Regions from separate parts of the Homo sapiens genome. Here all the other regions are linked to region 1. Evidence: promoter capture Hi-C in human tissues and cell types (Jung and others, 2019). All regions are on one chromosome and are shown on one strand. The core of a region is centred on a gene start or on the middle of the fragment in contact, and the rest is flanking DNA. Distances in the headings are between cores, read along the strand shown. Region 1 holds the start of DDB2 (damage specific DNA binding protein 2). Region 2 overlaps CKAP5 (cytoskeleton associated protein 5). Region 3 overlaps CKAP5 (cytoskeleton associated protein 5). Region 4 overlaps CELF1 (CUGBP Elav-like family member 1). Region 5 has its middle 7.6 kb from the start of CSTPP1. Region 6 overlaps CSTPP1 (centriolar satellite-associated tubulin polyglutamylase complex regulator 1).

What was found. Contacts are between HindIII fragments. The study calls those that stand out against the background at their distance.
Region 2: a contact is called between a fragment that was not itself captured here and the fragment with the promoter of DDB2 in region 1, in 1 of the 25 tissues and cell types used here (dorsolateral prefrontal cortex).
Region 3: a fragment that was not itself captured here is called in contact with the fragment with the promoter of DDB2 in region 1 in 2 of the 25 tissues and cell types used here (dorsolateral prefrontal cortex and mesendoderm cells).
Region 4: a contact is called between a fragment that was not itself captured here and the fragment with the promoter of DDB2 in region 1, in 1 of the 25 tissues and cell types used here (hippocampus).
Region 5: a contact is called between a fragment that was not itself captured here and the fragment with the promoter of DDB2 in region 1, in 1 of the 25 tissues and cell types used here (hippocampus).
Region 6: a fragment that was not itself captured here is called in contact with the fragment with the promoter of DDB2 in region 1 in 1 of the 25 tissues and cell types used here (adrenal gland).

What each region holds. Positions count from the first base shown.
Region 1 is chr11:47,212,596-47,217,465 of GRCh38, reverse strand. It overlaps DDB2 (damage specific DNA binding protein 2), which reads right to left and starts at 2,492. Exons shown (of 10, transcript NM_000107.3): 1 at 2,203-2,492; 2 at 994-1,130; 3 at 417-608. The coding sequence starts at 2,329. RefSeq lists enhancers at 2,160-2,439, 1,729-2,928, 2,770-3,009, 2,216-3,051, 3,052-3,888 and a silencer at 2,490-2,699. The HindIII fragment of the contact is 25,797 bases long and covers 1-4,870 here.
Region 2 is chr11:46,803,932-46,808,801 of GRCh38, reverse strand. CKAP5 (cytoskeleton associated protein 5) reads left to right here. Exons shown (of 44, transcript NM_001008938.4): 8 at 658-771. Among named protein-coding and RNA genes, the nearest start is that of CKAP5, 40 kb to the left of the region's middle. The HindIII fragment of the contact is 5,433 bases long and covers 48-4,870 here.
Region 3 is chr11:46,829,657-46,834,526 of GRCh38, reverse strand. All of the region lies in intron 1 of CKAP5 (cytoskeleton associated protein 5), which reads left to right. Among named protein-coding and RNA genes, the nearest start is that of CKAP5, 14 kb to the left of the region's middle. The HindIII fragment of the contact is 9,291 bases long and covers 1-4,870 here.
Region 4 is chr11:47,533,462-47,538,331 of GRCh38, reverse strand. The region is part of intron 1 of CELF1 (CUGBP Elav-like family member 1); the gene reads left to right. Among named protein-coding and RNA genes, the nearest start is that of CELF1, 17 kb to the left of the region's middle. The HindIII fragment of the contact is 4,129 bases long and covers 273-4,401 here.
Region 5 is chr11:46,926,746-46,931,615 of GRCh38, reverse strand. No RefSeq gene overlaps it. Among named protein-coding and RNA genes, the nearest start is that of CSTPP1, 7.6 kb to the left of the region's middle. The HindIII fragment of the contact is 4,284 bases long and covers 73-4,356 here.
Region 6 is chr11:46,945,480-46,950,349 of GRCh38, reverse strand. The region is part of intron 1 of CSTPP1 (centriolar satellite-associated tubulin polyglutamylase complex regulator 1); the gene reads right to left. Among named protein-coding and RNA genes, the nearest start is that of CSTPP1, 11 kb to the right of the region's middle. The HindIII fragment of the contact is 6,510 bases long and covers 1-4,870 here.

The DNA.
Region 1 (4,870 bases), core at 1,243-3,742:
ATTACTGGATGACATCAATATTCCTTTCATGCCTTCAACAAACACTCCTTATTTTTATTTTCTTTTATTATTATTATTATTATTATTTTGAGATGGAGTTTCACTCTTGTTGCCCAGGCTGGAGTGTAATGGTGCAATCTTGGCTCACTGCAACCTCTGCCTCCCGGGTTCAAGCAATTCTCCTGCCTCAGCCTCCTGAGTAGCTGGGATTATAGGCGCCTGCCACCACACCCAGCTAATTTTTGTATTTTTAGTAGAGACGGGGTTTCACCATGTTGGCCAGGCTGGTCTCAAACTCCATACCTCAGGTGATCCACCCACCTTGGCCTCCCAAAGTGCTGGGATTACAGGTGCGAACCACTGCACCCAGCCAACAAACACTTCTTTAGCACGACCTGGCATGGGGAACTGCTCACCCCTTTGATGAAGGTGGGTTTGTCCTTGATGCCAAAATTCCAGAGCATGATATCTCCCCCTTTGGAACCCACAGCCACGGTGCTGGGGTGAGTTGGGTGCCACGCCAAGGATGTAGCCCTCCTGTCAAAGGGGGCAGCCTTTTGTAATATCCGGTAAGAATCCAGAGTGTGCAAAAAGGACTGCTGGAGCCCCTGCCACAGAGAGAAATGAATTAGGTTGAATTAAAACCCAAGTTCTGGGTAAACTGCCAATCTCTGCCTCCTTCATGGATGAGCCCTAGATCCAAGTCCTCCCACCAAAGGAAAGCTAACTGCCTGCCCTGTGCATGAAAATATTTGCAATGTACACGAACGAATAATCTTGGAAAGCAAAAGGGGCAGAGTGCATTCCAGCTGGGACCTTTACAACATAAGACATTTTTTACCTGGCTGAGTGCCCAGTAGGCCAGTCACCACAGTCTGGGTGATCGGACCACTCTGACAAGCTGGTGAACCAAGCCATCATCTAATTTGGGAGCATGCAATAGTAAAAATGCACGTGTAAACCCTTGAGGACTTGAGGCAAAAAATGCCTTACCTGCTGGACAGATGGCCAGGAAGCTCTGCCCAGCTTATGCTGGTGGAGGGTCCTGACGATGCTGCGGCATGGTGGCAGGATCTGTGGGCCAGCCAGCCCCACCCAGAGGCAGTCTGAGTCACATCTTCTGCTAGGACCTGCCAAGCAGAACAGACATATTTTCCTCTCCAATCTCACGAAAGGTTTTTCTGCTGAATTCCCCGAAAGGAAGCCTTGTTTCATTCGGCACGGTTAATCTCTGTCTCATCACCTCCTGCGGCCTTTCCATGTCTGTGTGGTCTCAACGAGCACCAGAAATAAAAAAATGAGTGAGGATTTGGCCCCTTCCCCAAAACACTCCCACAAACAGTAAGTCTGAAGTGAAAGTAAATACAGTCGTGCAGGGTTCCTGAGACCCCAGCCAAAGAAACACACAAGGATAAAGTACAATGCAGAACTCTTCCCAGTTTGGGCTGCAAAACTCGAGATGGGACTGGGTCACAATTTTATAAATCACATATAATGCACAATAAAAAGATTTTAGGGCAGCATGGCAGAAGTCACCGTTTAGGAAAAGAAGGAATAGGAAGGCCTGGAAATGCTCTTAACTAGGTTACTTCTGGGGAGGTAAGTGAAATTAGAATAGCAATAAAGCAACAACTCCTGATCACCAAACTGTATTTGAGGACCCAATCACTATAGGTCCGACGTCTTGACAACCAATTCTTTCTTCTCATGGACAAAAACCACTTGATTAACAAGCCCCAGCTCGTTTTTGAGTGTCTCGAAACTCCTTATAGCCCCAGGTTCAAGCCCCAGTAAACCTCAGAGAATGAGCTTTCTAAGGAGGAAGGAATTGGGGGCTCTCACAACTGACCACCGAGGACGTGCAGCTAACAAGCGTGACTATGAAATCCAGCACACACAGCGCCAGGAAAGGTAGGATTCTCTGAAGCCGTCCTAACTGTGCAAGAACCCTGATACGAACAAGGAATCTGACAAGTCCGTGTGTCTGTTGTTACGGAGCTCATCTGCTTCCTGTTACCTAGCGGGAGAGGTGTTGAAACCTAAACACTCTGGTGTCAAAGGACCTGCAGGTAGAATGCACAGCCGGAGGCACCCGTGACCTGCGCGGGCCTCGGGAGCCTCGGAGCACCCATCCCCCGCTGCAGCCTCCTGCGCGAGCACCCTAAAAGGCGGAAATATTCAAGCAGCAGGCACAGGCAGTACCGGAGCCCTTCGCACAGAGCTTCTTGGCCTCGGGCTCCAGCTCCAGGGGACTCCTGCTCCTCTTGTTCCTGGGGCGTAATACAATCTCGGAGGTCTTCTGGGTTTCTGGGCGTTTCTTGGGAGCCATCGCGTCCTCCGTGTGAAGGGGTACTGTGCTCTATGCGAAGATCATGGAGGGAGGATTGAGAGGCCTCTGGGGAGAAACAAGGCGGGGACTACAAAACTGCGGGGCCACAGGTAGCCGAGCTAAGCCAACTTCCCGCCAAACATGCCCAGGGCTTGTTCAAACCAGCTTGGAGCTCCGGCCCCACCCGTCTCGGAGACCCCGCCCCTTCCTGGAAGGCGGGGGCGCGGGGAGGGGGTGGTGCCAAGGGGCGGTGCCAGCGCTCCCGGGAGGGGCGGGAACTGCGCCAGGGCCAGTGCCAGCCCGGGTCAGCTGACCTCCCTGGAGCAAAGATGGTCCCCGGCTTTATGGATTTTTTTTTTTTTTTTAGCAACAGGGTCTGGCTCTGTCGCTCACTCTGGAGGGCAGTGGGGCGATCATAGCTCAGTGCAGCCTCCACCTCCTGGGCTCAAGCGATCCTCCCACCTCAGCCTCCTAAGTAGATGGGACTACAAGCGTACGCCACCACGCCCGGCTAATTTCTCTCTCTCTCTCTCTTTTTTTCTTTTTCTGGAGAGACGGGGTCTCGCTTTGTTGTCCGGGCCGGTCTTTAACTCCTGGGCTTAAGCGATCATCCAGCCTTGACTTCCTGACACGAACCCTCCTCAAACGCGGCGCTGCCAGGCCTCTGCGGGTCCGGGGAGGAGGCCCGGTGCCAGCCAAGGCTCTGTCTCCCGCCTTGCAATTGGTGATGACGCCCGCTCGGGCTTTGGGATTGGCTGGTCCCTACAGGGTGTAGTTGGGGAGTGGCGGCTTTGTAGAGAGCTAGTGCCTTTCCTAAGTTAGAAGCTGGGCTCTACCAGCGGTCAGCTTTGCAGTCGGATTCCAGAAACTACAGTCCCATCGAATCCAAGCTGCTTCTCTGTGAAGGGAGAATGATTGGAACTCCTTGCCTTTTTTTTTTTTTTTTTTTTTTTTTCCTAGAGGCAGTGTCTCTCTTCCGTTACCCAGGCTGGAGTGCAGTGATGTAATCACAGCTCACTGCAGCCTTGACCTCAAGTTTCACTGATCCTCCCACCTCAGCCTCCCAAGTAGGCTTGCAGACCTGTATCCCCAAGCCTAATTTTTTTATTTTTATTTTTGTAGAGACAAGGTCTTGCTATGTTTCCCACGTTGGTCTGGACCTCCTGGGCTCAAGTGATCCTCCTGCCTCTGCCTCCCAAAGTGCTGGGATTACAGGCATGAGCCACCGTGTCTGGTTCTCACTGCTCTTTTATTTGTTTGGTCGTTGGCTGTTTTTATTTTTTCTTTCTTTCTTTCTCTCTTTCTTTTTTTTTTTTTTTTTTTTGAGACAGGGCCTCTCTCTGTCACCCAGGCTGGAGTGCAGTGGCAGGATGTGGGCTCAATGCAGGCTGGACTTCCTGGACATCGATCCTCCCACCTCAGCCTCCCGAGTAGCTGGGACTACAGGTGCGCGCCGCAACACTCAGCTAATTTTTGCATTTTTTGTAGAGACAGAGTCTCCCTAAGTTGCCTAGGCTGGTCTAGAACTCCTGGCATCCATCCACCTCGGTCTGCCAAAGTGCTGAGATTACAGGTGTGAGCCACTGTGCCCAGCCTCCTCACTGCTTTTTTTTTTTTTTTTTTTTTGAGACGGAGTCTCACTCTGTTGCCCAGGCCGGAGTGCAGTGGCACAATCTCGGCTCACTGCAATCTCCGCCTCCCGGGTTCAAGCGATTCCCCTGCCTCAGTCTCCGGAGCAGCTGGGACTAGAGGCACACACCACCACGCCTGACTAATTTTTTGTATTTTAGTAGAGACAGGGTTTCACCATGTTGGCCAGGATGGTCTCGATCTTCTGACCTTGTGATCTGCCTGCCTCGGCCTCCCAAAATGCTGGGATTATAGGCGTGAGCCACCATGCCCAGCCTCTTGGCCTCTCACTGCTTTTAACTAAGACTTGCCTAACCTGTTGGGTGTCCACCTAGGAGCAGCCTGGGACGTGATGGGCCAGAGGGCGTGCAGCCAGCGGTACTTAGAACTCCTACGCCCTCGCTTCAGCCAAAGTCCAAGTCTTGAAGGTTCACAGGTGAGGCCGCGCTGTCCTGCCTAGCCTGAGAAGAGACAGTTTGGATGCACCCTAGTTTCTGCGAAGAGGCAGGCAGGAGTTGGGCTTACTCAGGCATTGCTGGGCCTTTCCTCCACCCACTAAGCCCCGTGCCTGACAGTTTGTGGGGGTGGGAGGAGATATACAAAAATGCATTAATGGTAGGCCATCGCATTGGCTCAAGCCTGTAATCCCAGCACTTTGGGAGCCTAAGGCAGGTGAATCACTTGAGGCCAGGAGTTCAAGACCAGCCGGGCCAACATGGTGAAACCCTTTCTCTACTAAAAATACCATCAGGCGCAGTGGCTCATGCCTGTAATCCCAGCGCTTTGGGAGGATGAAGCAGGCAGATCACTTGAGGTCAGGAGTTCGAGACTAGCCTGACCAACATGGTGAAACCCCGTCTCTACTAAAAATACAAAAATTAGCTGGGGCGTGGTGGCACTTGCCTGTGGTCC
Region 2 (4,870 bases), core at 1,515-4,014, 410 kb after region 1:
ATTCCTCTCCTGTAATTGTGCTGCTGTGAGATGGGTGGGCTAGAAATGCTTTCTATTAATGTTTTCTGTTTGACATCTGCTTACTAACGTTTGCCTAGAAAATGAGAATGAAACGTCTATGGCATTGTTTGTTTATTATATTACTTTAGTTATAACATCTTATGAAAATACTTTTTATATATGAACAAAAATTTATATATATGAACAAAATGTTCTGATTGCCTCCACAGTTTTATTTTTTATTATTATTACTATTTTTTTGAGACGGAGTCTCGCTCTGTCGCCCAGGCTAGAGTGCAGTGGCGCGATCTTGGCTCACTGCAAGCTCCGCCTCCCGGGTTCATGCCATTCTCCTGCCTCAGCCTCCCGAGTAGCTGGGACTGCAGGTGCCTGCCACCACGCCCGGCTAATTTTTTGTATTTTTAGTAGAGACAGGGTTTCACCTTGTTAGTCAGGATGGTCTCGATCTCCTGACCTCATGATCTGCCCTCCTCGGCCTCCCAAAGTGCTGGGATTACAGGCGTGAGCCACTGCGCCCGGCCAGTTTTATAATTTTTTAAAAAAATTATGTATCTTTGAATTAGCAGAGTGCAATAAATAGACTTTTATTCCGCTCTCTTATTTCCTGTTACAAATGACTCATATTGTATCTTGCAGGAGGCAAAAAAATGGCAAGAGAGAAAAGAGGCCCTGGAGTCTGTAGAAGTACTAATAAAAAACCCCAAACTGGAAGCTGGCGATTATGCAGATTTAGTAAAAGCATTAAAGAAGGTAAATATGAGGACTTGCAGTACTGGTATTGTAACAGCCATCAGGCCTTTGAATTTCTCATCAGTCATCTTTTTAATTACACATACATTGCCACTTAAGGAACATTACTGATGGTATTTGAATTACAGACATACATTTTTAAAGGGTTGTTTTAAATTCCTGTTGTGGGTTAGTTTCATTTTCAATCTTTGTTTTTTGTCACTTTGACTTTAGGTATGCTATTTGATAGCTTCTGTAACTCTCTAGGAAAAGAGAGTTGCTGATCTAGAACTACATTTTCCAGTTTTATAATTCTATAGGATGAGCTATTTAAGTTAGCTGTATTTAATTGGACAAATATTAAACATGAAGATAGCAAATGATAACACACTACTTTGTATCAGTATGTAAAGAGTATACGAATATGAGGTCAGTTCTGAAACAGACAAGTACTAAGTAAGAGATAAACATTTTTAGGAAATAATCTTTTGGTATTGCAAGTTGAATGCTGCTGGTGGACATTTTGTATGTAGTAACTTTTTATGAAAACTGTAAGTATAGATCAAACACTGTGGATATGATTATAGTGCTTAAGAACAAACTCTGAAAACATCTTCATGAATATAGCAAGAATGAAAATTTTGTTTTGTTTGCTTCCTCAGTCTGAAATTACAGAGGATTACAATGGTGAGGGGAGGAAGTTGATTTTTAATTATACGCACACCTAAGTCATTACTTGTAGTAGTTATATTCTGTAAAGCCACTGCGAACACTAAATTAGTGAATATTGAATCATTGCTTCTAAGAGAAATACAGGGTTAGGATCCTGCAACCCTTTGGTCACAACATTTCCATCAATCAGTACATAACTTTGTTTTATTCTGTTTGGAGATAGCATATTTAATATATGTTGTTGATTCATTAACATTGAACTCTTGGCCGACAACACTGTAACTCTTGCCTGATTGAAGCTTTTCCTAACGCATATATTTTCTCCCTAAGGTACATCACAGCCTGTTTGCACTTAGGAATACTAGACAGCATTTCAGCACTACACTTAGGGGCCATTTTAAACAACAAGAGCACCAACAAAAAACACAAAAATGCAAAAACATGGCACTGAATAAACCATGAAAAAGACACTTGTTTATAGTGTAAAAGCTAAAGCAAGAAGGTAGAGTGTTATCTTGTCTACCTCAGCTGGGAATGTGCACAATAGACAACACAAAATGTTCACAGCTCTGAACTTGTCTGTAAATGACCAGGAAAGTACCATGAGTGTTGATTTGGGGATTATAAGCAAGTTTTAGCAAGTAGGTGAATTTGCAAATATGGATTCGTGAATGATGAGGATCAACTATATTCTAGTAGTTAACCTTCCTAGGCTTTCCTTCAGTGGGACTTGGAGGCAGAGATATGATTTGTGAAATCTTTGTTCAGTCATCAATTTTCCATCTTGAAGAGTTACACTCGTGTAAAATAAATTAAAAGAGAGTTGCCCTAGGGGAAAAAGAGTTTTACCAACCTGGAACCTGGGAGGAAAGAATGGGAAGGGGAATAGTAGAGGGCACTGAGACAAGGAAAGTCAGGTTCCAGTGGCATATGAAGAGAGCTACAGATTCTCTGTCAATTCTTCCAGCATTTGGTTATTAATTAGAAATCTTATTGCTCTGGTGCTGAATTCTCGATGTGTCAAAGAAAACCTTTTCTTTTTCCTTATCATTAATATTATGTGTTTTCTACATGTATTTTCTAAGGATATTAGCTTCTCACACAAAGACAGTTCTGTGGTTTCCATTGGCATTGTGAATGTAAATATAATCTCTTGCTGTACTATATAAAGAGAGAGCATCATGGATTTTATATTTGAGTAGACAGACAATAGATTTCTGAGAGATCTAGGGTAGCAGTAGAAACTTCTTTCCCTTTTCACGTGGTGGGGTGGAGGGAATCAGAGACCACAAACAAGTAAAAAGAAACTGAATTTTGTGGCTAAAATATTTAAAACAATGAAAAGTTAACTTCAGTTGTAAAAATTAACCTGAAACGACATTTTCTTTTCTTTTTGCCTTAAGTAGTGACAGAGACATTTTATTTTTTTTATTTTCTTTTTTGAGATGGAGTTTCGTTATTGTTGCCCAGGCTGGAGTGCAGTGGCACGATCTCGGCTCACTGCAACCTCTGCCTCCCGTGTTCAAGTGATTCTTCTGCCTCAGCCTCCCAAATAGCTGGGATTTATAGGCACTTGCCATCACACCCAGCTAATTTTTGTGTTTTTAGTAGAGACGGGGTTTCACCATGTTGGCCAGGCTAGTCTCGAACTCCTGACCTCAGGTGATCTACCCTCCTTGGCCTCCCAAAGTGCTGGGATTACAGGCATGAGCCACGGTGCCCAGCTGACATTTTATTTTTTGTATTTGATTTTAGTTATATGTACACACAAACTTTGTATTATGTTGACTTCCTAGAAACATAACAAAAGTGGGGAAATGGTGAAATGGAAAAAAGTGGGGAAATGGTGAAATGGAAAAAAGAGGATGAGATTGAAGAATAGATTACAGACCAATCCTTTTTCCCTCCTTATAATTATCTCTTCTTTGTATTGTATAAATCAAGTAATCCCATTAATTTCTCAATTTTTTTCCTTTAATGAAAGTAGTAAAAAGGCATTAACTTTAAAATTTCTTATGATATTCCTGAAATTATTTTTAAACTGTTTTGAGTTGTCACCTGATTTAGCATATTCTGTGGGCTTTCCTGTTCTCACAGATTATAGTTCTTTTTTTTCTATTATTTTTAATTGATGTATTTATTTTTGAGACAGAGTTGCGCTTTGTCACCCAGGCTGGAGTGCAGTGGCACGATCTCAGCTCACTGCAACCTCCATCTCCCGAGTTCAAGCGATTCTCCTGCCTCAGCCGCCTGAGTAGCTGGGATTACAGGCGCGTGCCACCATGCCCGGCTAATTTTTTTTTTTTTTAATTTTTAGTAGAGACAGGGTTTCATCATGTTGGTCTTGAACTCCTGTCCTCAAGTGATTTGCCTGCCTCAGCCTCTGAAAGTGCTGGGATTACAGGCGTGAGCCACTGCGCCTGGCCTATAGTTCTTTTATTTATAAGATGCCTCCCTCCCAGCTCATCGCTTCTTTGATTTTGTCATGTGCCTATGCCTATGGACATTTGATTTTTTATATATATATAATTTATTTATCTTTACATTAAGATTTGGATTTTCGAAGTGCTTTCTTATATAATCTTTAGACTTCTATGTGGTATTAATCTTTTTTCACTTGTTCTTTCTACTTTTCCCCCCTTAATTATTGCTTGTTTTCATCATAGTTTTCTAAACACAGTAATTCATAATGGGTTTCATTAATTTGTTTCCTTTCCTCTGTCAACGGTGTGCTTTAGTTATTATTAACTAGTGGCTTTAATTTCTAGTTAAAGATAAATACCAATTGATAATTACTTTAAAGCACTTTGTTTTAATACTGTAGGCCTCAATTTATGAGAAAAGTGACAGCACTTAAAACTGTACAAGATTTCCTATTGTTTAAATTATATTGAGATTATGAGCTAAAGCTTCCATTCCCTGGTCTAGAACAGAAATTACTGAAAAGACAGAAGTCATTGTTTTTCTTACCTCTGAAATGGAGTCCCCCCTCATATGTTACTTTTCTTAAAAATAAACACTTCTCCATCTTCCCTACTCTCATTTCCCTGTTGAGAATAACTTGTTTATGGGAATAAACAATGAGTGTCAATGAGTGTGACAGGCAGGTATTATATTAGGGTATCTGGTCCATTGCTCACTTATAAGTTTATTTGAGCCTTTGCAATCTTGAAATTTAACAGATTCGCAGTATCTTCTTCAATACTATACAATAAGATCATGAGTGTCTAGAGTCTAGCTCCCACTGGTTACTGTTCCAACAATGGATAGGGAGAGGTATTCTCCTAAGAAAGGAATAGAATGATAGTTTTTTAACTGAGCCCATATGACAAAATCACCCTTTGAGCCATTTAAAAATACTGATGTCCAAATTTCATCCCAGATTCATTGAACTAGAATTTGTTGGAATGGGATCTTACATGTTTTTGATGTCCATTCCTAGAATATA
Region 3 (4,870 bases), core at 1,117-3,616, 380 kb after region 1:
TTTTTTTGAGATGGAGTTTTGCTCTTGTTGCCCAGGCTGGAGTGCGGTGGTGCAATCTCAGCTCACTGCAACCACCGCCTCCCAGGTTCAAGCGTTTCTCCTGCCTCAGTCTTCTCAGTAGCTGGGACTGCAGGCATGTACCACCATGCCTGGCTAATTTTTGTATTTTTAGTAGAGATAGGGTTTCACTATGTTGGCCAGGCTGGTTTTGAACTCCTGATCTCAAGTGATCTGCCCGTCTTGGCCTCCCAAAGTGCTGGGATTACAAGTGTGAGCCACCGCACCAGGCCAAGTTAGCCCACTCTTATATCAAAGGACTGAAATATAGGTTTGTTTAAGTCTGAAATCAACCTAAAATCTCTCAATGACACTGGGATGATGCTTATAATGATATAGTAAAAGGCCAAGCCGGGTGGATCACCTGAGGTTAGGCTTTCAGGACCAGCCTGGCCAACATGGTGAAACACCATCTCTACTAATAATATCAAAATTAGCTGGACGTGGTGGCACACGCCTGTAATCCCAGCTACTCAGGAGGCTGAGGCAGGAAAATCACTTGAACCCAGGAGGCAGAGGTTGCAGTGAGCCAAGATTGTGCCATTGCACTCCAGCCTGGGCAACAAGAGCAAAACTCCATCTCAATAATGATGATGATAATAATAATAATATAATAATAATATAGTAATGATAGCTGTGGTTTACTGAGTGCTTGGTATTTGCCATGAAATCTGTTAATACTACTACTTACTTAGCTGGGCCCAGTGGCTCACACCTGTAATCCCAGCAGTTTGGGAGGACGAGGCGGGCGGATCACAAGGTCAGGAGATTAAGCCCATCCTGGCTAGCACGGTGAAACCCCATCTTTACTAAAAATACAAAAATTAGCCGGGCATGGTGGCAGACGCCTGTAGTCCCAGCTACTTGGGAGGCTGAGGCAGGAGAATGGCGTGAACCCGGGAGGCAGAGCTTGCAGTGAGCCGAGATCCGCCAGTGCACTCCAGCCTGGGCGACAGAGCCAGACTCCGTCTCAAAACAAAAAAAAAATTAATAATAATAACAATAATATAGTAATGATAGCTGTGGTTTACTGAGTGCTTGGTGTTTGCCATGAAATCTGTTAATACTACTACTTACTTGCATAAAATCCACTGGATTTGTTTAATTTGACCCTTTCCAATCAGCCTTTCTCTTATTTGGTCACATGGGTCATATTTTTGTTCTTTACTCTTGCCTGCATCTTTTAGAGATCCACACACATGCCTGAAACATTCTCTGTTGTCCCTACTTTTTGCCTTTGCTTGGATAACCCCTATTAATTTCATTTAGTTTTCAGCCTGAGTATCACTTTCACAGGGAGACCTTCCCTGAACCCCGCTGCCCCAGTCTAGATTAGATTCCTCCGTCATACTCTCTTATTGTACTTTGCCTCAGGGCTATTGTGGTGCACAGCCTATACTCAGCATCTAGATGAGCATCTAACACCGAATAGCCTCACACTATCTGACAAGCACAGTTGTCAGGACAGGAGAATAATGTGAATATTTGTGGGAAAAAAAATTTTTTTTTTTTTGAGATAAACTCTTGCTGTGTCACCCAGGCCACAGTGCAGTGGCTCAATCATGGCTTACTATAGTTTCAACCTCCTGGGTTCAAGCAGTCCTCCCACCTCAGCCTCTTGAGTAACTGAGACTACAGGCGCATGCCACTACACCTGGCTATGGAGGGAATTCTTAACATGTAAAAGGCAAAATCTCATTTAATCTTTACAACAATGATTAGATGAGTCATGTTAGGCAAGTTACTCTGTTTGCCTCAATTGCCTCATTATTAAATAGGGATAATAATATCAACTTCAAGGTTTTAAGGATTAAATGAGTAAATACATGTGAAGTGCTTAGGATAGTGCCTGGCACATAATACGTGTTCAAGAAGTGTGTGTTAAATAGGGAGCAACATGAAGATGGTATTGTTATGATGATTGATAAAACTGAGGATCAGCTGGTTTGTGGCAGAGCAAGGTTTACAACTCAATCTGTCTACCTCCAGAGCTCAACATGACTCCAGGTTTGCACTAAATTTAATCTAGAGTAGAGCTTTCTACAGTAAGATTTCTTTCAAGCAACTGTTTTACTGCCATGGCTTTGCCAAAGTGAAAGATTCTAAAAATGAAATTACCCTCTTTTAGTGGATCTTATAATAAAAAAGTAACTAACTAGGAAAATAGTGGCAAAAATCTTAGAAAATTTCAAAATAATATTACTGAGTGATTTTTTTCACTTTGAAAAGGGTTTACTTCAGAATTTTATTAAATATATATTGTTTTCTCAACACATTTGAAATACACATTCTACAAAATTTTCTTTATAAGACCAGGCGCAGTGGTTCATGCCTGTAATCCCAGCACTTTGGGAGGCTGAGGCAGGCAGTTCACTTGAGTCCAGGAGTTCAAAACCAGCCTGGGCAAGTGGTGAGACCCCATCTCTACAAAAAGTAAAAAAGTTGGGCATGGTGGCAAACACCTGTGGTCCCAGCCACATGAGATGCTGAGGCAGAAGTTTTGCCAGAGCCCCGGAAGTCGAGGCTGCAGTGAGCCATGTTCCTGCTACTGCACGCCAGCCTCAGTAACAAAGCAAGACCCTGTCTCAGAAAAAAAAAAAAAAAAAAAGGATAAGTTTATTGTATATTTAAGACTTCTGACTGGGTGGGGTGGCTCGCAAGTGTAATATCAACTCTTTGGGAGGCTGAGGCAGGAGGACTGCTTGAGCCTGGGAGTTCGAGACCAGCCTGGGCCACATAGTGAGACCCTGTCTCTACAAAAAAATTTAAAAATTAGACAGATGTGGTGGTGCATGCCCCAGTAGTCCTAGCTACTCAGGAGGCTGAGGCAGGAGGCTCACATGAGGCTGGGAGGATGAGACTAGAGTGAGCAGTTATTGCACCACCATACTCCAGCCTGGGCAATGGAGCAATACCCTGTCTCAAAAAACAAAAAACAGAAAGACTTCTGTGACTTGATGAAATGGTGCCATTTTAGAAATTTTACACTAGAGCACAAAGCACTATGCAATGCTGGGATAATGAATAAGACTCAGTTCCTTCTTTCAAAGGAGATATCATGTATACAAAAAATGTTAAGAGAGAGAGTGAAGTGTAGCCTATGGGATGAGTATAGGCAGATGATCCAACTTCAAGCCTCTAAGTGGGAATTTTAAAGTTTTAAAGCTTTTAAAAGCATTATTTATCATCTAAGCGGGAGTTAAATAAAGAAAAAGTAAATGAAAAAAATTTAATAATATAAAAAATACAAAAACATTATTATAAAAGATGCTGAAGCTCATTATTAAAAATCAGAAGGCATGGATGGGTATTAAAGTTCAAAGTAAAAGTTTTTTCAAAAAAATTTCTTTGCTTAACCCTTAGACACACTCTCAGAAGTCATGGTTAACAATTTTTTTCTTTTTTGAGACTGATTCTCACTTTGTTGCCCAGCCTGGAGTGCAGTGACGCGATCTCGGCTCACTGCAAGCTCCGCCTCCCAGATTCACGCCATTCTCCTGCCTCAGCCTCCCGAGTAGCTGGGACTACAGGCACCCGCCACCATGCCCGGCTAATTTTTTTGTATTTTTAGTAGATACATGGTTTCATCCTGTTAGCCAGGATGGTCTCGATCTCCTGACCTCGTGATCCGCCCCCACCTTGGCCTCCCAAAGTGCTGGGATTACAGGCAAGAGCCACCACCCCGGCCCATGGTTAATAATTTTCTACAGATCCTTCCAGAAAATGTTTATGTGCATTCAAACATGTACAATGATGTCCTAGTTTTCTATGGCTGCTGTAACAAATGACCACAAACTTGGTGGCTTAAAAAAACAGGATTTATTCTCTCACAGTATGGAGGCCAGAAATCCAAAATGAGTCTTATGGACCTACATCAGGGTGTCAGTCAGCAGGGCCACACTCCCTCCAGAGCCCCTAGGAAAGAATCTGTTCCTTGCCTCTTCCAGCTTCTGGTGGCTGCTGGCACTCCTAGGCCTGTGGCCATCTTTCTCTACTCTATTCTAATTTTTTTTTTTTTTTTTTTTTTTTGAGACGGAGTCTTGCTCTGTTGCCCAGGCTGGAGTGCGGTGGTGCCATCTCGGCTCACTGCAAGCTCTGCCTCCCAGGTTCATGCCATTCTCTTGCCTCAGCCTCCCGAGTAGCTGGGACTACAGGTGCCTGCCACCACGCCCGGCTAATTTTTTGTATTTTTAGTAGAGACGGGGTTTCACCGTGTTAGCCAGGATGGTTTCGACCTCCTGACCTTGTGATCTGCCTGCCTTGGACTCCCAAAGTTCTGGGATTGCAGGCGTGAGCCACCGTGCCCGGCCTACTCTATTCTAATCTTTCTCTGATCCCTCTTCATATCACTTTCTCCATTGGGTCAAATCTCCCTCCGTCTTGCCCATAATGATATATGTGATTGCCTTTACCCACCCAAACAATCCAGGGTAATCCCCCCATCTCAAGATCCTTAATTTAATCACATCTGCAAAGACCCTTTTTCCAAATAAAGTAACATTTACAAGTCCCAGGGATTACAACGTGATTTCTTTGGGGGTCATTATCAGCCTACACAAATGCATATGTAAATGTGTATGTGAGATACACACACACACACACACACACACACACACACACACACACACACATACAAAAAAGGAATTAGACTTCATATACTGTCTTGCAAATTTCTTCTTAAAACTTAATGGATTTCTTCCACATAGGCACATTTGACCCTTGAGCAATGCCAACGTTAGGGATCCCCCTGTGCAGTGGGAACTTCACATATAATTTTAGACACCCCCAAAACTTTACTAATAGCCTACTGTTG
Region 4 (4,870 bases), core at 1,088-3,587, 320 kb before region 1:
CAGCCAACATCAAGATTCTGTCTTCCATATATAGATAATGTAGGATAGAAAAAGCTAGAAGATATTATTTGATATCAGAGATCAAATGATGATTGCAAATATATCTAAACAATATTATGGGCCAGGCATGGTAGCTCATGCCTGCATTACCAGCACTTTAGGAGGCTGAGGCAAGAGGATTGCTTGAGGCCAGGAGTTTGAGACCAGCTTGGGCAAATACAGGGACTCTGTCTCTACAAATAAAATTATTTAGCCAGGCATGGTGGTGCACACCTGTAGTCCTAGCTATTTGGGAGGCTGAGGCAGGACTCAACTCCTTGAGCCCAGGAGGTTACAGAAAGCTATCATTGTGCCAATGTACTCCAGCCAGCCTGGGTGAAAAAGTGAAACACCTTTCTTTAAAAAAAAAAAAAGAAAAGAAAAAAAAGAAAACAAAATGATTATGCCTTTATGTGTTGTGTGTATCGTACTAAACCCAGTGCTGTGCATAGAGGAAATTTTACAGTCTATAGTGTTACATAAGTACTGGGGCCTTGCATAAAGTAGATATCTGGTAATTATTTGTTGACTACTCCATGTCTAGTCAAATGGCACTTTAATTTTATGTTTTGGAACAGTTCAGTATTAAGGATTAGTAATAGGAAAAAGACTTAACATTTTAATTCTGTGAATTTAAGTCATTGTCTTCTGAAGATGGAGTACTTTAAAAGCTCCAAGGAGTTATCTGGAAAAAAAATGTAAGCAGCTTTCCATCAAAAGACATTATGGTTAAGGTTTGTACTGTAGGCCTGGTGTGGTGGCTCACGCCTGTAATCCCAGCACATTGGGAGACTGAGTCGGGTGGATCACGAGGTCAGGAGATCGAGACCATCCTGGACAACATGGTGAAACCCCGTCTCTACTAAAAATAACAGAAATTTGTTGAATGTGGTGGTGTGTGCCTATAGTCTCAGCTACTCAGGAGGCTGAGGCAGGAGAATTGCTTGAATCCAGGAGGTGGAGGCTGCAGTGAGCCAAGATGGCGCCACTGCACTCTAGCCTGGGCGACAGAGTGAGACTCTGTCCCAAAAAAAAAAAAAAAAAAAATTTGTATGGTAAAAACCTTGTGGAGCTCTGATCTTGAAACTTCGTAATTTTTATTGCCTGAACAGTCAGAAGGCTCCTAGACAACTCTGATTTTGGCTCAGTTTTCAGTAGCTCCAAAGAATAAGAAAAGGATAATCTGATATTGCTGGCAGTCTGCACTCTTGCCTTTCTGGGCCAAGACATGCTTTTCCAAATAAAATCAAGGAAATAGTAAACCACTAGTAAAAATGAATAAAGCATCCAAGAGTTTGCCTCCTGTCATGTCCTGTTTTCTCCTTTTTGTTTCTAGGCTGTTTGATATTAAACTCATGTGCCAAAACTATACTGTGGACTTGTCCTTCCTACTTCCCCTTTCAAGCTGATGGGAAATAATTATGGAAAGACATTATGTTTATTATATATTCATTGTTTTTATTGCGTGCTATTTCTGTTTAATAGTCTCTGCATACATTTACAAGTGCAATTTTTATTTTTTATTATTATTTTTTGAAATGGAGTCTCACTCTGTCACGCAGGCTGGAGTGCAGTGGTGTGTTCTCAGCTCTGCAGCCCCCGCTTCCCAGGTTCAAGTAACTGCCTCAGCCTTCTGAGTAGCTGGGATTACAGGTGTGCACCACCACGCCCAGGTAATTTTTGTATTTTTTTTAGTAGTGACGGGTTTTCGCCATGTTGGCTAGGCTGACCTCCAACTCCACCTGACCTCAGGTAATCTGCTCACCTTGGCCTCCCAAAGTGCTGAGATTACAGGCATGAGCCACCACACCCGGCCTACAAATGCAGTTTTTTAAAAAGCTTTGCAAACCTCTTTACTGAGCTAATTTGGGTTATAGATAGCATTGGGAAACTATCTATCAGTCTGTCTATCTATCTATCTATTTATTTATGACAATCTCGCCTTGTCGCCCACGATGGAGTACAGTGGTGCAATGTTGGCTCACTGCAACCTCCGCCTCCCGGGTTCAAGTAATTCTCGTGCCTCAGTCTCCAGAAGAGCTACTACAGGCCGTTGGCACCATGCCCAGCTAATTTTTCTATTTTTAGTAGAGATGAGATTTTGCCATGTTGGCTAGGCTGGTCTCAAACTCTTGGCCTCAAGTGATTCACCTGCCTCAGCCTCCCAAAGTGCTGGGATTGCAGGCTTGAGCCACCATGCTGGCCAGAAACTATTTAAAAACAAACTCTTGGGCTGGGTGCAGTGGCTCATGCCTATAATCCCAGCACCTTGGGAGGCTGAGGCGGGCGGATCACAAGGTCAGGAGATCAAGACCATCCTGGCTAACACAGTGAAACCCTGTCTGTACTAAAAACAGAAAAAATTAGCTGGGCACGGTGGCACACGCCTGTAATCCCAGCTACTTGGGAGGCTGAGGCAGGAGGCTCGCTTGAACCCAGGAGGTGGAGATTGCAGTGAGCCGAGATTGCACCACTGCACTTCAGCCTGGGCGACAGAGCAAGACCCTATCTCAAGAAAAAAACAAAAACAAAAAAACTTGTGGGCATGCTACAGGAAAGCTTAGGTGAGTAAATATAGCAAAACAAGACATGATTTATTTTTTTTTTTTTTTTGAGATGGGGTTTCGCTCTTGTTGCCCAGGCTGGAGTGCAGTGGTGCAACCTTGGCTCACTGCAACCTCCACCTCCCCGGGTTCAAGCGATTCTCCTGCCTCAGCCTCCTGAGTAGCTGGGATTACAGGCATGCCCCACCATGCCCGGCTAATTTTCTATTTTTAGTAGAGACGGAGTTTCTCCATGTTGGTCAGGCTGGTCTCGAACTCCTGAACTCAACTGATCCGCCTGCCTCGGCCTCCCAAAGTGCTGGGATTACAGGTGTGAGCCATCTCGCCCAGCCCAAGACATAATATGTTTGTGGAGTATCTTAATAACTATTGCCTACGGTAGTTAATGGTATATCTTATCTCCATAGAACCATTTTTTTTTTCTTTTGGTTTGTGAATTTGTTGTATGAATTGGTTCTGAGTTTGGTTTTCAACACATTTAAATGGAATTTATATTTAGGTTTCAGTAGTTATTAGTGTGAGGGATACTCTTGAAATTTGTGCCAGGTACTTTTCTGGCTCAAACTATTATGGATCAGGCGTAGGGTAGCTGAAGTTCTAGATTATTACTGTGAAATCAAGTGCTGTTTTTGTTAATGTTCATTTGTCTGGTATAAGTTTGCTCTGGGGCTAAGCTAGATCTATGGAAAGACTTAACCCTTTTCCAGAAAGCTTCCAACTTAGGGAAAAAAATTTTTTTTTTTCTAATTCTGACTGTTCCACTTCTGAAAAAAACAGATCCACAGATCAGACTTGTAAATGATCTGTTTTCTTAAGATATCTTCTAACAGAATGGGTCTCCAGGGAACTGAGTGACAACACACATTTAGCTGGGAGTGGCAGTTCATCTCCCTAAACGTAATTTAACATCACATTTATCTACACACTACAGTTTTGGAGGCATACTTGGAGATTGAACTTATACTTCTCTTGGCTTATTTTATTTTATTTTATTTATTTTTGAGATGGAGTCTCGCTCTGTCGCCTAGGCTGGAGTGCAGTGGTGCGATCTCTGCATACTGCAAGCTCCACCTCCTGGGTTCACACCATTCTCCTGCCTCAGCCTCCCGAGTAGCTGGGACTACAGTTGCCCACCACCACGCCCGGCTAATTTTTTGTATGTTTTTAGTAGAGACAGGGTTTCACCATGTTAGCCAGGATGGTCTCGGTCTCCTTACCTTGTGATCTGTCTGCCTTGGCCTCCCAGAGTGCTGGGATTACAGGCATGAGCCATGGCGCCCGGCCAGCTTTATTTTTATAATTTTGTGTCTGATATATTTCTAACATAATTGTGTAGAGAAGCTGAGATTTCTTGAACTTTGGAAAACATTGAAATCTTGATAGAAAAAATACTAAATATGGCCAGGCGCCGTGGCTCATGCCTGTAATCCCAGCACTTTGGGAGGCCAAGGCGGGTGGATCACCTGAGGTCAGGAGTTCGAGACCAGCCTGGCCAATGTGGTGAAACCCCATCTCTACTAGAAATACAAAATATTAGCCGGGCATGGTGGCAGGCGCCTGTAATCTCAGCTACTTCGGAGGCTGAGGCAGGAGAGTAGTTTGAACTAAGGAGGCGGAGGTTGCAGTGAGCAGAGATTGTGTCACTGTACTTCAGCCTGGGCAACAAGAGTGAAACTCTATGTCCAAAAAAAAAAAAAAAAAAAAAAGGAAAGAAAAAATGCTAAATATAACTTATGTTGTGGTCTGGAAAGAAATAGCAGCATACATAGGTCATAGAAACTTCAGTTGAGTTTATATTGATGTAGCTGCTTTTATGAAGAGGGAGGGGAAAAACTAAGAGTTGAATATATTTAACTATTGTGCAACAGAGTGTCACTAAAATAGTTATAAATATTCCTTTTTTTTTTTTTTTTTTTTTTGGGGGAGAGTCTCGCTCTATTGCCCAGGCTGGAGTGCACTTGAGCAATCTCAGCTCACTGTAACCCCTGCCTCTTAGGTTCAAGTGATGCTTCTGCCTTAGCCTCCCAAGTAGCTGGGATTGCAAGTGCCCGCCACCATGCTCAGCTAATTTATGTATGTATGTATGTATGTATTTATTTATTTTTTGAAATGGAGTCTCGCTCTGTAGCCCAGGCTGGAGTGCGGTGGTGCGATCTCAGCTCACTGCCACTTCCGCCTTCCGGAGTTTAAGCAGTTCTCCTGCCTCAGCCTCCTGAGTAGCTGGGACTACAGGCATACACTGCCATGCCTGGCTAATTTTTTGTATT
Region 5 (4,870 bases), core at 965-3,464, 290 kb after region 1:
TCCCTCTAGATTAGAAGTTTAGAAAACAAAGACCTACCAATCAATAGGATTTATGGGCGCCTCATGGCAATCAATTCATTAAAAATATTTATTAAAGAAAAAGGTGGCCAAGTGTGGTGGCTCATGCCTTTAATCCCAGCTGCTCAGGAGGCTGAGGCAAAAGGATCAGCTGAGCCTGGGGTGATCATGCCACTGCACTCCAACCTGGAGCGAGACCCTATCTCAAAAAAAAAAAAACAAAAAAACCAAAACCAAAAACCCCAAAACGGCCAGAAAAACAAAAGGCATCATTGAGAAAGACATTAAAAGTCAATCAGAAAGCACTGGCAAATGCTTCCTACACCTAAATAACCATGTATAAAATACCCAGACTGACCGGGCGCAGTGGCTCACGCCTGTAATCCCAGCACTTTGGGTGGCCGAGGTGGGCAGATCACCTGAGGTCAGGAGTTCGAGACCAGCCTGGCCAACATGGTGAAACCCTGTCTCTACTAAAAATACAAAAATTAGCTGGACACGGTGGCACGCACCTGTAATCCCAGCTACTTAGGAGGCTGAGGCACAAGAATTGCTTGAACCTGGGAGGCAGAGGCTGCAGTGAGCTGAGATCGTGCCACTGCACTCCAGCCTGGGCGACAGAGCAAGACTCCATCTCAAAAAAAAAAAAAAAAAAGTGCCCAGACTAGGCATGGTGGCTCATGCCTATAGTCCCAGGATTTTGAGAGGCCAAGGCAAGAGGATTGCTTTAGCCCAGGAATTTGAGACCAGCCTGGACAACATAGTGAGACCCATCTCTACAAAAAATATGTTTAAAAATAAATAATTAAAATAAAAACTAGCCAGGTATGATGACACACACCTAAAGTCCCAGCTACTTGGGTGGCTGAGACGGGAGGATAACTTGAGCCCAAGAGTTCAAGGCTGCAGTGAGCCATGATCATGCCACTGCATTTCAGCCTGGGTAACAGAGTGAGACCCTGTCTCAAACAAACAAATTCCCAGGAAAAAAGCAACTAACAACAAAGTGTTTAGAGAGAATGCTTCGTGTACATAACAGAATTAGTTCAGAAGGATGAGAGAGAATGTGCTAGATATCAAATTTAAGATATGAACTGGGAGTTCCCAAATTTCAGAAGCTTAGGACAAGAAGCTGGAGTCTCTGTGTCTATTTTTTCTTTCTCCCCCAAATCATCCTCTACATTGTCACAAGAGTATGTCATTCTGAAGTTCAAATTTGACCATGTTACTTCCTTATTTAAAAAGTGTTGCTAGGCAATGCACAATGACTCACACCTGTAATCCCAGCACTTTGGGAGGCTGAGGTGGGGGGATCACTTAAGGACAGGAGTTTGAGATCAGTCTGATCAACATAGCAAGACACCATATCTACATTAAAAAAAAAAAAAGGTGTTGCTGCTGACTCACCATTACTAGGAAGAAGCAAAACTTCACATGCAGACATATAAATCCTTTCACAGCTTGGTACTAACCTCTTCTTCCAGCCATCTCGCCACTCAGTCTTCTCTACAAATTTATACATACAGCCATGCTTTCCTACTCGATATCCCCCAACATATTGGGCTCTTTCACACCCTTTGCTTTGGTGTAAGCTTTCTGTCTAGAATGTACCTCTACTATATTTTCTGCTTAGTAAACTACACATCCTTTAAAACCTAGGTTACGGCCAGGCGCAGTGGCTCATGCCTGTAATCCCAGCACTTTGGTAGGCCAAGGCAGATGGATGGCTTGAGCTTAGGAGTTCAAGACCAGACTGGGCAAAATGGCAAAACCCCTTCTCTGCCAAAAATACAAAAATTAGCCAGGTGTGGTGGCATGCACCTGTAGCCCCAGCTACTCGGGAGGCTGAGGCAGGAGGATTGTTTGAGCTGGGGAGGTGGAGGTTGCAGTGAGCTGTGATTGTACCACTGCACTCCATCCTGGGTGACAGAGTCACACCTGTCTCAAACAAAAACAAAAACAAAAACGACCTAGGTTTAATGTCACCACACCCATGAGACCTTATCCAATTTCCCAAGGAGCCAGTTAGCACCTGATATGTAGCTGTATTTTAGCATTTATCATATTCTTTACTTATTTGTTTGCCTGGGTATTACTCCTCTTGGACTAAAAATTGTTCATAGCCAGGGAACATGTTTTATTTGCTGTTATAATATTTCCACTACCCAGAAAGACAGAAGAAGTATTTGTCAAAAGTCTGTATTTGTTCATTTTCATGATGCTGATAAAGACAAACCTGAAACTGGGAACAAAAAGAGGTTTAATTGGATTTACAGTTCCACATGCCTGGGGAGGCCTCACAATCATGGCAGGAGGCAAAAGGCACTTCTTACTTGGTGGTGGCAAAAGAAAATGAGGAGGAAGCAAAGTAGAAACCCCTGATAAACCCATCAGATCTCGTGAGACTTATTCACTATCAAGAGAATAGCATGGGAAAGACCGGCCCCCATGATTCAATTACCTCCCCCTGGGTCCCTCCCACAACACGTGGGAATCCTGGGAGATAAAATTCAAGTTGAGATTTGGGTGGGGACACAGCCAAACCATATCATTCTGCCTCTGGCCCCTCTAGATCTCATGTCCTCACATTTCAAAACCAATCATGCCTTCCCAACAGTCCCCCAAAGTCTTAACTCATTTCAGCATTAACCCAAAGGTCCACAGTCCAAAGTCTTATCTGAGACAAGGCAAGTCCCTTCTGCCTATGAACTTATAAAATCGAAACCAAGCTAGTTATTTCCTGGATGTAATGGGGGTACAGGTATTGGGTAAATACAGCCATTCCAAATGGGAGAAATTGGCCAAAACAAGTTACAGCATCCATGCAAGTCCAAAATCCAGTGGGGCAGTCAAATTTTAAAGCTCCAAAATGATCTCCTTTGACTGCAGGTCTCACATCCAGGTCATGCTGATGCAAAGGTGGGTTCCCATGGTCTTGGGCAGCTCTGCCCCTGTGGCTTTGCAGGGTACAGCCTCCCTCCTGGCTGCTTTCATTGGTCGGTGTTGAGTGTCTGCAGCTTTTCCAAGCACACAGTGCAAGCTGCCAGTGGATCTACTATTCTGGGGTCTGGAGAACGGTGGCACTCTTCTCACAGCTCCACTAGGCAGTGCCCCAGTAGGGACTCTGTGTGGGGGCTCCAACCCCACATTTTCCTCCTGCACTGCCCTAGCAGAGGTTTTCCATGAGGGCCCCGCTTCTGCAGCAAACTTGCCTGGGCATCCAGGCATTTCCATACATCTTCTGAAATCTAGGCAGAGGTTCCCAAACCTTAATTCTTCACTTCTGTGCACCCACAGGCTCAACACCATGTGGAAGCTGCCAAGGCTTGTGGCTTCCACCCTCTGAAGCCACAGCCCAAGCTCTATGTTAGCCCCTTTCAGCCACGGCTGGAGCAGCTGGGACACAGGGCACCAAGTCCCTAGACTGCACACAGCATGGGGACCCTGGGCCCAACCAACGAAACCACTTTTTCCTCCTGGGCCTCTGGGCCTGTGATGGGAGGGGCTGCTATAACGGTCTCTGACATGGCCTGGAGACATTTGCCCCATGGTCTTGGGGATTAACATTAGGCTTTTTGCTACTTATGCAAATTTCTGCAGCCGGCTTGAATTTCTCCTAAAAAAATGGGTTTGTCTTTTCTACTTCATTGTCAGGCTGCAAATTTTCTGAACTTTTATGCTCTGTTTCCCTTTTAAAATGGAATGCTTTTAACACACCCAAGTCACCTGTTAAATGCTTTGCTGCTTAGAAATTTCTTCTGCCAGATATCCTAAATCATATCTCTCAAGTTCAAAGTTCCACAAATCTCTAAGGCAGGGGCAAAATGCCTCCAGTCTCTTTGCTAAAACATAACAAGAGTCATCTTTGCTCCAGTTCCCAACAAGTTCCTCATCTGCATCTGAGACCACCTTAGCCTGGACTAAGCTTATGGTTCACATCACTATCAGCATTTTTGTCAAAGCCATTCAACAGGTCTCTAGGAGGTTCCAAACTTTCCCACATTTTCCTGTCTTCTTCTGAGCCCTCCAAACTGTTCCAACTTCTGCCTGTTACCCAGTTCCAAAGTCGCTTCCACATTTTCTGGTATCTTTTCAGCAATGCCCCACTCTACTGGTACCAACTTACTGTATTAGTTCGTTTTCATGCTGCTGATAAAGACATATCTGAAACTGGGAACAAAAAGAGGTTTAATTGGACTTACAGTTCCACATGGCTGGGGAGGCCTCTGAATTGTGGCAGGAGGCAAAAGGCACTTCTTACATGGTGGCGGCAAGAGAAAAATGAGGAGGAAGCAAAAGCGGAAACCCCTGATAAACCCATTAGATCTCGTGAGACTTATTCACTATCACAAGAATAGCATGGGAAAGACCAGCCCCCATGACTCAATTACCTCCCCCCTGGGTCCCTCCCACAACACGTGGGAATTCTGTGAGATACAATTCAAGTTGAGATTTGGGCGGGGACACAGGAACTTATCAAAAAGAATGAATATCCACACAGCTTCAAAATGGGTTTAGATAAATCCATTGATGATAGTTCCATATAGTCCTTAAGGGCAACTAGAATCTAGTATGTTATGGTACTGTTGTTTTGAGGGGGACATCAAAGGACAACCCTGACAAATCCATTTAGAGTCACCGTCAGAGGCATAAACCTAAACTAGATAGAATTTAGGCTCTGTCCTGACATTGTAATTATTTTGCTCTTTGGGGAATATTTTCTTAAGAATATTTAAGTTAATTTATTAAGCTTTTCTTAAGTCTCTTAGGAGACAGAGATTTTAGATTTCAGTTTTTTAAAATAAGTGCATTAATGCACATCTATAGTCCCAGTTACTCAGGAGACTGAGGC
Region 6 (4,870 bases), core at 922-3,421, 270 kb after region 1:
TACAAAAAATTAGCTGGGCGAGGTGGCGGGCGCCTGTAGTCCTAGCTACTCGGGAGGCTGAGGCAGGAGAATGGCGTGAACCTGGGAGGCGGAGCTTGCAGTGAGCCAAGATCACGCCACTGCACTCCAGCCTGGGCGACAGAGCGAGACTCCATCTCAAAAAAAAAAAAAAAGAAAAGAAAAAGTCTTTCCCCTTTTTGTGTCACCTAACAGCAAATGAAATCTGGGAAATGAAGTTACCCAAATACTACTAACTGTAATTGAAAACAAAAGATTAAATTCTGAACAGCCAAAGCTGTTTTTAATCACTTGGCTAAGTTTGAGAACTTTCCAGTTGGAGAGCCTGATGTCTGGTCCTTCAATAATAGTTATTTTCAGGCCGGGCACGGTGGCTCATGCTTGTAATCCCAGCATTTGGGGAGGCCGAGGCGGGAGGATCACTTGAGATCAGGAGTTTGAGACCAGCCTGGCCAACATGGCGAAACCCCCATCTCTACTAAAAATACAAAAATTAGCCAGGCATGGTGGCATGCACCTATAATTCCAGCTACTCGGGAGGCTGAGGCATGAGAATTGATTGCATGAACCCAGGAGGCAGAGGTTGCAGTGAGCTGAGATTGTGCCATTGCACTCCAGCCTGGGTGATGGAGCGAAACTCTGTCTCAAAAAAAAAAAAAAAAGTTATTTTCTCTTACCATCCTAGGAAAGATAAGAAAAAATTTATAATGTGAGACAAATTCAACCACTTCTTTTCCTTCTAAGTTTGTTTCTCATTTAGAAATATGATATCAAAAATAAATATTTATTGGAAGAACAAAGGTCAAAACAGTCCCTATGTTCAGGCATGGTAACAAAGATTAGCAAGACTCCAAAGGCTATTTGTAAATATACCCTTGAAAAGAAAAAAGGCAAGGCTGTTCTCCCTGAAGATTTAGCCTATCTTTTGCCTGTACATTCACTATTCTTTATCGTGCCAACCCTTGAAGAGAAGGCAAAGACTGCATATGTGAGACTTTAGAAGACAATCATGTTTCTAAACAGCAGGTCTGGTAGTTCATAGACTATCAAGAAAGACAATCAATTTTAGGTTTCATTAAATAGTTTACTCTTAAGATACTAGACGTATATTAATTAATTCAGCCTCTCAACCCTCTGTGAGGTAGCTTTTATCAACTCCATTTGTTGGGGAAATTTGATCAAGGAGAATAATAACAGTGTTTTCTATTTACAAAATACCTTCCCTATAAGGAACTCCACAAGTTTATCTTCTCAATCATCTTTCATTCCTGTGAGGTAGGTGGCAATATTACCTTTCCCACTTTTATAGGTGAAATGCTGTGGCTCAAGGAGCTTAATGACTTACTCACATGGTAGCCTGTATTTTATCCACTAACTAGAATGTACTCTTGAGATTAACACTAGACCATGGACTCAAGGCTTAACTGCACATAACTGACGTGTGGAGCTTCTAGTTTTCTCTATAGCCATCTTTCAATGCATCGCATTCCAAAAAGGACTGGAGTCATGCTTGCTGTTTAAGCTCATGTGTTCACTGTTTATGAAGTTTATTGTTATCATTTCTCTAAATTGGACTACTTAAGTTTCGTCTAGGTGCCCAAGGGCTAAATTATTTTTTGTTTACTGTCTGTGCACCAGCATTGTAAATGATGTCATGAGGAGTGTATAAAACTCTTAGACAAAGCAGCAGGGCCAATAAAAGCAGCTCACTTGGGGAAGAGTACATTTCTTCTTTCCTTTTTTTTTATGTAGCCATCACACAAAAAGATGACTCATTAAGTCCAAAAGAGGTGACTATGCCATGTAAGCACTTCTTACGCAGCCTTCCACAAAGAGACCTGAGTGGCAGCATAAGGCATCCTCTTCTGTGCAATTTCCTCCAGGCAGAATGTGCATTTGTGTGGCTATATACACAATTATAATCTCCTCTGAAAGGCAATTCCTTCCATATGACAGGCTGAACAGTGTCCTGAGTGCTAGCCTCATGTTGCCCAAGCAGTTAACATGCTGATATACCAGACACATTTAATCTCTCCTTTCTGAAAAACTAAGATGGGACAGAAGAGGCAAAGTTGGAAAGAACTCCACACAGAGAGAAAGGAGGCCAGCCCAAGCGCCCAAACTCACTTTCTCATGGGCTGAACTTCTTTGTGTGTTGCCTACTTACGTGTCAATTTGCAGGACTTTGGGGCATGAGAACCATGGAGCCGACCGGTTCTGGCAGCCTCTCCATTTGACAAGCAAAGCCGAAGACGTGTGGCCTTTCATATATCTTACATTCAAAAGTGTTATTGTTTCAAGCATGCCTATTTTAAAATACAGAATTTTCCCATTTAGAACAGGTCTTTGTAAGTTGGCCACAGGAGGAGTTCTGCCACATTAATTTAAAGGGAAAAAAAAAAAGTGGCAATGGGCCCTAATGCAGCTCTATCCCCGCCAGATGCCTCTGTTTACTTTGGGCCAATGGGACTGTCCCAGGTGAGAGAAGTCTGAATTTAAAAAACACCTGATCTGAAGTCCTGGGGCACAAGCAGATTTCTGTCTGAGATTACAGAAACTGAAGCTTGTGTTTTATCACAATTACCTGTAATCTCGGGGCTAGATAATAGTATTAACGAGACCTTGAGTTACACAATAGGACAGCTGGAAAAAAGGCTCTTACTTTCTCCAAAGAATAGTGCTTTAAAAGCTAATTGAATGAAGAAAAAGAACAGGCTCTGAAAGTGCTGTCTCAAACAATATTTACTTTTAGTAGGTTCCTGCTAATCAAACAAAACTTAGTCAAAAGCTTTCCATGAAAAAAATACATTTGATGATTTCAGCAGTAATTGCTTTGTTTAAAGAAAGGTGCTTAAGAAAAAACATAGCTAGTGGGATCAGTAATTTGTAAGTTCAGTTGTGTTTGGGAAAATCCCTCCTCTCTTTGATAAATCATTAAAATTCTGCTCAGATAAATGTGTTTTGACTTGAAATTCCAATCATAGAATGAGCTATTTCCTAAGGCCCCTAGGGAAGTAGTGTAAGGGTGATCCCAACACAGAAAGAGGACCCAGAGATTAGTTTACAAGGGTAATTCCAGTCTTAATCAAAGCATATCACTCTGTCCAACTAAAGGACAGGATCTCATTGAGATGCTCCAAAATTGTAGAAAATCTCCTTCCTTTTTAAAATATTGGTTTTACAAAATGGATTAAATTTTAATGTTATGTAACCCAAACACAGAAACTATGGTATCAACCAAGAAATTAACTTTAGGTATAAATCAGAGTTAAAACCGAAAAGATCCAGAGCAGATTTAATCATCCTTTTTCATTCATGGAAGGGGGGAAAAACATAGTTTCTCTCACATGTTAGGAATTCAGTAACTATTTGTTGAACTGGATTCCTTTCTCCCATTTATTTTAAAATTTATTCTGTTACTTAAAGTAGACCATTCATTCAACAACTGAGCACTTCATTTGGGCCAAGCATTGTGCTAGATTTTAGAGAGAAAAGGCCTGCCCTCATGGCTCACATTCTAATAAGAAACAGACAATAACCAAGTATACAAGTAGGTACACAAGATAACTCTGATAAGTGCTATGAAGGACATAAATAGGATGATGAACCAGAAATAGGATAATGGATCATGTCTCTTCTGCTCTACTATTATTTTTATTTATTTACTTATTTTTGAGATGGAGTCTCGCTCTGTCGCCCAGGCTGGAGTGCCGTGGTGCAATCTCGGCTCACTGCAAGCTCCGCCTCCCGGGTTCACACCATTCTCCTGCCTCAGCCTCGCGAGTAGCTGGGACTACAGGCGCCTGCCACCACGCCCGGCTAATTTTTTGTATTTTTAGTAGAGACAGGGTTTCACCGTGTTAGCCAGGATGGTCTCGATCTCCTGACCTCGTGATCCACCCGCCTTGGCCTCCCAAAGTGCTGGGATTACAGGCGTTGAGCCACTGCTCCCGGCCTGCTCTACTATTATTTTTAAAACTTCAATTTATCTACTCGGCCTCCTAGAATTATTCATTTAGCACATATTGCATTTGTGCAAATAAAAGTGATCCCCAACTTCTGAATAGCATTTGGAATAAAGATTTTAACATTACTTGAATATATAAATGATAAACAAAGTCAAAAATTTTAAAGCTATCTTAAAACCCCAGAATAACACTGACATCACTCTGCAATTTACTTTGGAGAAATGGAGGTAGGCAAGGGTTGGGAACAACATGGCTTAGAACTTACTGGCTCTTTTTTCCCCCCAACAAAAAGATATTTATTTATTACATGTATTAAATAGGTTACAGAATCTTTGGAAAAGGAAAAAAATCTAGATCGACCTTCCAGGAACAACTCCCAAAAGGCCCATTCCAGAACTAGGCTACCAAGGGAACTGCTGTCCCTTCCATGACTGAGAAGCTGCTGACCAAACTGAGAAAAGGCCAAGATAGCTGCTGGCTCTAGAACCATATAGGTCACATACTCTTTACTTATTATACTGTCTTTTTATGTTATGGTCATTTATGAATATGTCCCATCTCCCATCTACTGTGTAAGTTTCCTGTGGGGAGGGATGCTTTATATTCATATATTCATGCCTGGCTTTATATAGAGAAGGTATTCAGGGAGGAAGAAAAGGAAGGAGAAGGGTAGGGGGAGGAAAAGGAAAGAAAGAGGTGACTTTGTGAACATGTTCATAATTATTTTATTTATTTATTATTATTATTTTGAGACAGAGTCTTGCTCTGTCGCCCAGGCTGGAGTGCACTGGCGTGATCTCAGTGGACTGCAACCTCTGCCTCCCGGGTTCAAGCGATTCTCATGCCTCAGCCTCCCAAGTAGCTGGGACTCCAGGTGCGCACCA